2 separate regions of the Homo sapiens genome follow, and region 1 is linked to region 2. The links are contacts of gene promoters, found by promoter capture Hi-C in blood cells and fetal thymus (Javierre and others, 2016). All regions are on one chromosome and are shown on one strand. Each heading gives the region's core, a stretch centred on a gene start or on the middle of the fragment in contact. The rest is flanking DNA. Distances are from core to core; before and after follow the strand shown.

Region 1 (3,190 bases), core at 345-2,844, 91 kb after region 2:
ACTCTGAGAGGGAGGGTGGATTCCTTCTGGTTAGCCTTACTGGAGTGGTCCAGCATTCTGTGAAATCAGAGCTGAGCTAGGACTTGAGATAACAAAGTGTATGCATATAGTTTATAAACTAATCTTCTCCCCCGTTTTCTGTGGTCTTCTTTGGTGTCACTATCCCACCCCCCATTCATTCACTCATTCAACAAACTTAATGAGCTCCACTTCTGTGGCTAGTTAGGAGTCCATGCTGTTAAGGATATGAATTAAGATCATGGTGATGGAAATGAAAAGGTATATTTTTAGAAATATTTAAGAGTTATGGATGTGGGATTAGGAGATGCTATTTAGTGGCAGAGCTGTAAGTACAGCCTGGGTCTTCAGGTTCCTGGGGTAAGGAGCCTTCCCCTCTGCTGTGTAAAGCTTATTATCTCCTCCCGGAGGAACTCTGTAATTTAGCTCTTTTTTCTTGACCAAGGACTTGGCATGAGACTGACCATCGATAATGCCAAACACTGTCATAAAAGCAAAGATATGAGAGCTTTGTTCTTAGCTATTTATATTTATGCTGTAAATCCTTTAAGATAGACATAATTGCTGTGCACATAGATTAAGGGATGTAAGGCCAGGCACAGTGGCTCATGCCTGTAATCCCAGCACTTTGGGAGGCCGAGGCAGGTGGATCACCTGAAGTCAGGAGTTCAAGACCAGCCTGGCCAACACAGCGAAACCCCATCTCTACTAAAAATACAAAAATTAGCCTGGTGTGGTGGCTAATGCCTGTAGTCCCAGCTACTCGGGAGGCTGAGGGACGAGAATCACTTGAACCCGGAAGGCGGAGGTTGCAGTGAGCTGAGTTCATGCCGCTGCACTCCAGCCTGGGCGACAGAGCGAGACTTGGTCTCAAAAAAAAAAAAAAAAGGATTTAAATGTATTTTCAAGCATTGATATTGTCATAAAATGTAATTCACTGATAAAATGCACATAAAATTAATATATTTTCTTTAGTCTGTAACATTAATAATCTCATCTGCCTTTTAGAGTAAGGACTGCCTTTTGTAGCTTGAGCACTTATGTGTGCTTTCATGTTACAACGCTGTCTTCGCTATTACAGTGTGAGGGAGCTGCTGCTCTTATCTCCACTCTGCAGAGGGGAGATTGAGGCACGTCGGAGTTGAGTAATTGGCCAAGGTCAAATGGTAAGTGGGAAAACCTGGATTTGAACCCAGGCAGCCTGGCATCCAACTCCAAAATCCTTGACCTCTATACTCTAGTGTTTCTGACAGGAGGAGGGTTTTGGAGTTAGGTTTTAGCCTGAGTCTCATAAGATCTGTCCAAAGAAAGTTGAGCTTACAATTAATTTCCCTGCTGTAAGCAGGAAAATTAAAATTATTTTTTTCCACGTTACTGCTGCCTTAAATACTGTAGACAAGTTTCAGCGTACTTCTCACTTCATTGGAAACCTATAAAGATAATTGCCAGGTGCTAACACACACTTGTTAAAAACCAGCTTTCACTCGTTTTTAACAATGCAAAAGTGAGCAGTTTCTCATCTGCCCAGTGTATGATTCTTTGCTCAGAAGAAGTAGAATGGATGAACAGAGACGCTGAACGATTGTGGAATTTTTGATTATGCTTTAATAGGGAGGTAAGGAAAATGTATACAGGATTTGGGAACTAGACAACGTGAGTTTGCATTTGGGCTCTAGCATTATGATCTCTCTGACCTTGGGCAAGTCACTTCACCTCTGAGTGTGTTTCCTCTTCTATAAAATGGGGTTGATAAGTTGCCCAACCCGCCCTCACAGAGCTGTTGTTGGAATTGAATGAGATAAAGTATGTGAACACGTTTCACCTATGTAACTATGTGCAGATGCTCATTACTGCCATGGCTAGGGAGAGAGGTGCCGGAGCAGAGGTGAGCAGCTGCCTAGAGGAACTTGAGCAGGTTTCCCTGGGTTACTGTATTCCTAAGGAAATGTGCACCCTCTTGTGGCGAAGTAAGGGGGTTAAGGGTTCTTGTGAAAAATACTTCAGTGTTGTTACTGTGGGATTTTTTTGGTCACCAGAAATACTTTCCCAGTAATGAATGTACACACTCTTTCTAAACAAATCCTTAAATTGCAAGGTGAGTGAATTATTTAGTCCTTACCCAGTTTTTAATTTTTCTTCATGTCTTTCCTGTTCCATTCATAGAGAGACTTGCTAAACTTTTCATTTTCCTAAACTACTGTTTGTTTGTTTTTAATGTGCTTGTTGCATTTACTTTATTTTTGGCTCTAATTTATTTATTTATTATTATTATTATTATTGAGGCGGAGTTTCGCTCTTGTTGCCCAGGCTGGAGTGCAATGGTGCAATCTTGGCTCACCACAACCTCCGCCTCCCGGGTTCAAGCGATTCTCCTTCCTCACCCTCCTGAGTAGCTGGGATTACAGGCATGCGCCACCACACCCAGCTAGTTTTGTATTTTTAGTAGACATGGGGTTTCTCCATGTTGGTCAGGCTGGTCTCGAACTCCCGACCTCAGGTGATCCGCCTGCCTCGGCCTCCCAAAGTGTTGGGATTACAGGCGTGAGCCACCGCGCCCAGTCTGGCTCTGATTTATTATCTGTTAAATTTTAAACACATAGGGCTTTCTTTGTCTGCCTTTGCTAACATAGGACTTCTGGTGCTTAGCATCTAGTAAATGCTCAGTAAATGATGATGAGTGGGTACTGACAGTCTTAACCATTCCTCAGTTTCCTTCTCCCTTTGACTGTGGAGCACCCTCTTTTCCTTGGGATCAAGCTTCCTGAAATATACGGAAATGGATTGAGAAAATATGGCTTATCAATCACTTTACATTTTCTCAGGTTCCTCTTTAGTAAAATAAGAATGAGAATAGATGATTTCCAAGATTCTTACTTTGTAGGGACAAGGGAATCAGATGATTGTGTTCTTTGGCAGAGCCTAGTCTGTGAAATGTCTTATGACTATCAGCTTTATTGTATCCTCCCCTAGTTCCTAGATGAATAGGGTGGGGAAGCAGGAGAATGCAGTATAGTGGAAGGAAGGGAAGTGGGGTGATGAACAACAGGATAAGAGAACATTGTGGTGGGCAGGTTGGGGGAGGGATTAACAGGACAGTAGCAACATTCCAGAAAGAAGCTGTAACATCCTGAGGTATGTGAACATTTTTCAAAACGTATACACATGGTATTAT
Region 2 (3,191 bases), core at 418-2,917:
CCAGTCAGGAGACCCGAACTTGTTCCATTCCTACATTCGTGACTTCTCCACCCAAGGACACTCCCCGCACCCGCGCCCCAACGCCTTCACAAAACCCAACATATCCGCGATCAAACCTTCAACTCTCCCAGTGGCCCCCAGAGGTCCAGAGCTTGGAATCTTCTTCTGCCTCCTCACCTCTGAATCCCGCCATTCTTCTCCCTCCTGTAGAATTTCATTTCCTGGCTGGGACCAGGCTCTAACCATCAGGCTTCCAGCCGGGCCCCGGAACTTGCAGCCCGCTCTAGCCTGTCTGGCTCCTGCCCGAGCCCCTCGGCTCCAGCCTGCTCTCATCCCAACCCTGCCTCTTCCGTCGGTCACGTTGTTTCCTCCGCTTGGAAGGACCTCTTTCCTCTCCGGGCCCTTCCCAGTGCTCGGGGAACTCCTACACAGCCTGCGCTCCTCCGCTTCCAGCCACCCTCGCCTCCCACCACCCTGGCTTTGGAGCTGAACCGGCCGCGCAGCCGGGCGGCGACCATCCGTCCCCCGGCCGCTGACCCCAGCGCTCCGGCCTCGCCGCAGTCCCTGGCCCCTCGGCGTTCGTTTCCCCACCCGCCACCTGGCTTTCGCCGCCGCCGCCCGGGAAGCCCTCGGCACTTCCCAGAATAGAGAGCAGCTGCCAACGTCAGGCTGCCGCCTGCCGCGGGGTTCCGGACACGCGGGGTCTGGGCGGAGAGGACGTGACTCCGCGCTGGCCTTCCGCCTTCCCTCCCCGGTCGGGAAACTGAGGCCCGGGACCGGGAACCACTTCCCCGCGAGCACGGTCCGCGAGGGCCCGGCCAACCCCGGTCCTAGGCGTCCCGACTCCCGCGCGCGATCCTTCGACCACACGCGCCGCTCGGTCACCTCAGAGAGCGTGGCGGGGAGCGGGTCTCAGAGCGAGCGCACGGCCCGGGAACGCGCAGGGCGCCAGCCCCGGCCAAGTCGCTGCGAAAGTTGTTGTCTCCCAGCCTGCCCTCGCCTCTCACCTCCGGGACACACCTTCCCGCTTGCCCTGGCAGCAGCGCACTCACATCCGGTCCACCTTGCGCACACCCCTCTCCGCGCTCACTCGCAGCCCCTCTCCCTCCCACGCCCGCGGCTCCCCGTCGCCCCCTCGCGCGCTCCCACCCGCGCCCGGGGCGCGCCTTCCCCGCCCCGCCGCTCGCCCGGCCTCGGCGCCGCGCCCGCCCGGGGTTCCGGCGCCCGGAGCCCCAGCCCGGGGCCGCGACCCGCTTCCGCCCGCCTGGCGCGGGGCCGGAGCCCGAGCAGCCACTGCCGAGCGCGGTGGGCGCGAGGCGAGGGGCGCAGCGGCGCGGGGCGGGGAGGGGGCGCTCGCTCGCTCCCTCTCGGCTGCGCACACGCCCGTACAAACTCTCACACAGACACACGCGGGGTGCGCTGCCGCCGCCCGCCGCTGCTCCTCCTCCCGCCACCGCCTTGAGAGGGAGAGAGAGGGAGGCAGAGAGAGCGCTTTGTCCGCGCGCCGCCGCCCGGCCCGGGACTCTGCCCCGAGGAGGCAGCCGCGCCGAGTCCCCGCCTCCGCCTCTGCCCCCGGGCGGGCCGGGCCGGCCGCGGTGGGGGGAGCCAGGCTGAGGGTGGGGGTGGGTGGCGGGCGGGCGGAGGGCGGGGAGGGGGGGCGGAGGAGGAGGAGAGACGAGGGCAGCGGAGGAGGCGAGGAGCGCCGGGTACCGGGCCGGGGGAGCCGCGGGCTCTCGGGGAAGAGACGGATGATGAACAAGCTTTACATCGGGAACCTGAGCCCCGCCGTCACCGCCGACGACCTCCGGCAGCTCTTTGGGGACAGGAAGCTGCCCCTGGCGGGACAGGTCCTGCTGAAGTCCGGCTACGCCTTCGTGGACTACCCCGACCAGAACTGGGCCATCCGCGCCATCGAGACCCTCTCGGGTGAGCACTCAGCGCGGCCCCCTCCCCCCGCCTCGCCCCGCTCAGGCCGGGACGGCGCCGGGAGGGAGGCCGAGTCCGGCGGGCGGCGCCCGGCGGCGGCTCCCGCGCCCGCACGCTCACTTCCACGCACCAGACCCTCAACTCTCGCCGCCGGCCCGCTCCTGGGACGGCCCGCTCCCCTCCCCCCACAGCTCTGGACTCTGCCCTCGCCCTCGGGGCCGCAGCCTTGGGGCGCCCCCCGTGCCGCTCCGAAGGCTCCCGAGGCTCGCCGGCTCCTTAGGGGCACCCCTCGTTCGCCTGGCGCCCCGGGCTGCTCTGAGCTTCCCCGCCCCCCACCCTTTGAGCGTCCCCTGTCTCACTTCTCCCCTGACCTTCCTGTCACCCCCTTTGTCAGGGTCCCCCCTTCCCCAAATCCAGCGTCTCTTCCTCCTCCCCCGGCCGGACCTTCTCTCTTCCAGTGCCTCGTGCCCAGAACCTCTCGCCCTCTGGCGTCTCCTGAGCCGCACTCTCCTTTCGAGCCCCCTCCCCACCTCGCCCCACGGCCCCCCACTTTTGGCACCCCCTCGGCGCCACCCTGGTGACCCCCTTCGAGATCTCGGGGCTCCCCCAGCCCCAGCCCTCGCACGACGGCACATCCCCTCGGTCCTTTCCCGAACCTCAGTCCCCTCTCGCTTGCTCTCTCAAGCGCTCCTATTTTTCTCTGAATTTTTTGTCCGATTTTATTGAGAAGAACTCGGGGCTGGGGGCTTTCCGCCGCCCGTCCCCCCGCCTCCCGCTCGGCCAGAAGCACCTTTTTACGAGGTGCCCTGTCTCAACTCGGTGGGGGCCAGGGTTGAGAACCGGGAAAGAGGCGACCGGGGGGCCCGCGAGCGCGCTGGAGCCCAGACAGGAGACGGAGAGCGACACACACACACACTCGCGCGCGCGCACTCCCCAACTCTCCCCAGCACACGCTCCGCTCCCAGCCGCGCGGGCCCCCGGGCCCCGGCCGGCGCCCCCCGAACCCCGGCCCGGCGGGAGCCCCTTCCCCACCGGCGTGTGGAGTGGGGGCGGGGCGGCGGCGAGGCCAAGGTGACACCCAGGAGCGGGCAGGGACAGGGCTGTCGCTGCGGCGGACTCCGGGGGGCTTCGGCTCGTTTTCTCGGGGCCACCGGGAGGAGAGGGCAGGGAGGGGAGCCCGGTGGAGCCTTCGGGCCCCGGATTAGCGGAATGGAGAGGTGGGGGCCGGGAGAGCAGCGGGGCCGCGCCAGCCCTGCAGCTTGAGT

Evidence for each region. The method cuts DNA at HindIII sites, captures the fragments that hold promoters and counts their contacts. A CHiCAGO score of 5 or more calls a contact.
Region 1: a contact is called between a fragment that was not itself captured here and the fragment with the promoter of IGF2BP2 in region 2, in 2 of 17 cell types (megakaryocytes and endothelial precursors). The highest score is 7.7, in megakaryocytes.

Annotation. Positions count from the first base shown.
Region 1 is chr3:185,732,864-185,736,053 of GRCh38, reverse strand. All of the region lies in intron 2 of IGF2BP2 (insulin like growth factor 2 mRNA binding protein 2), which reads left to right. Among named protein-coding and RNA genes, the nearest start is that of IGF2BP2-AS1, 21 kb to the right of the region's middle. RefSeq lists a silencer at 2,000-2,049. The HindIII fragment of the contact is 2,367 bases long and covers 411-2,777 here.
Region 2 is chr3:185,823,518-185,826,708 of GRCh38, reverse strand. It overlaps IGF2BP2 (insulin like growth factor 2 mRNA binding protein 2), which reads left to right and starts at 1,667. Exons shown (of 16, transcript NM_006548.6): 1 at 1,667-1,926. The coding sequence starts at 1,749. RefSeq lists silencers at 850-939, 1,350-1,619, 1,631-1,861 and an enhancer at 2,801-3,191. The HindIII fragment of the contact is 1,788 bases long and covers 1-1,762 here.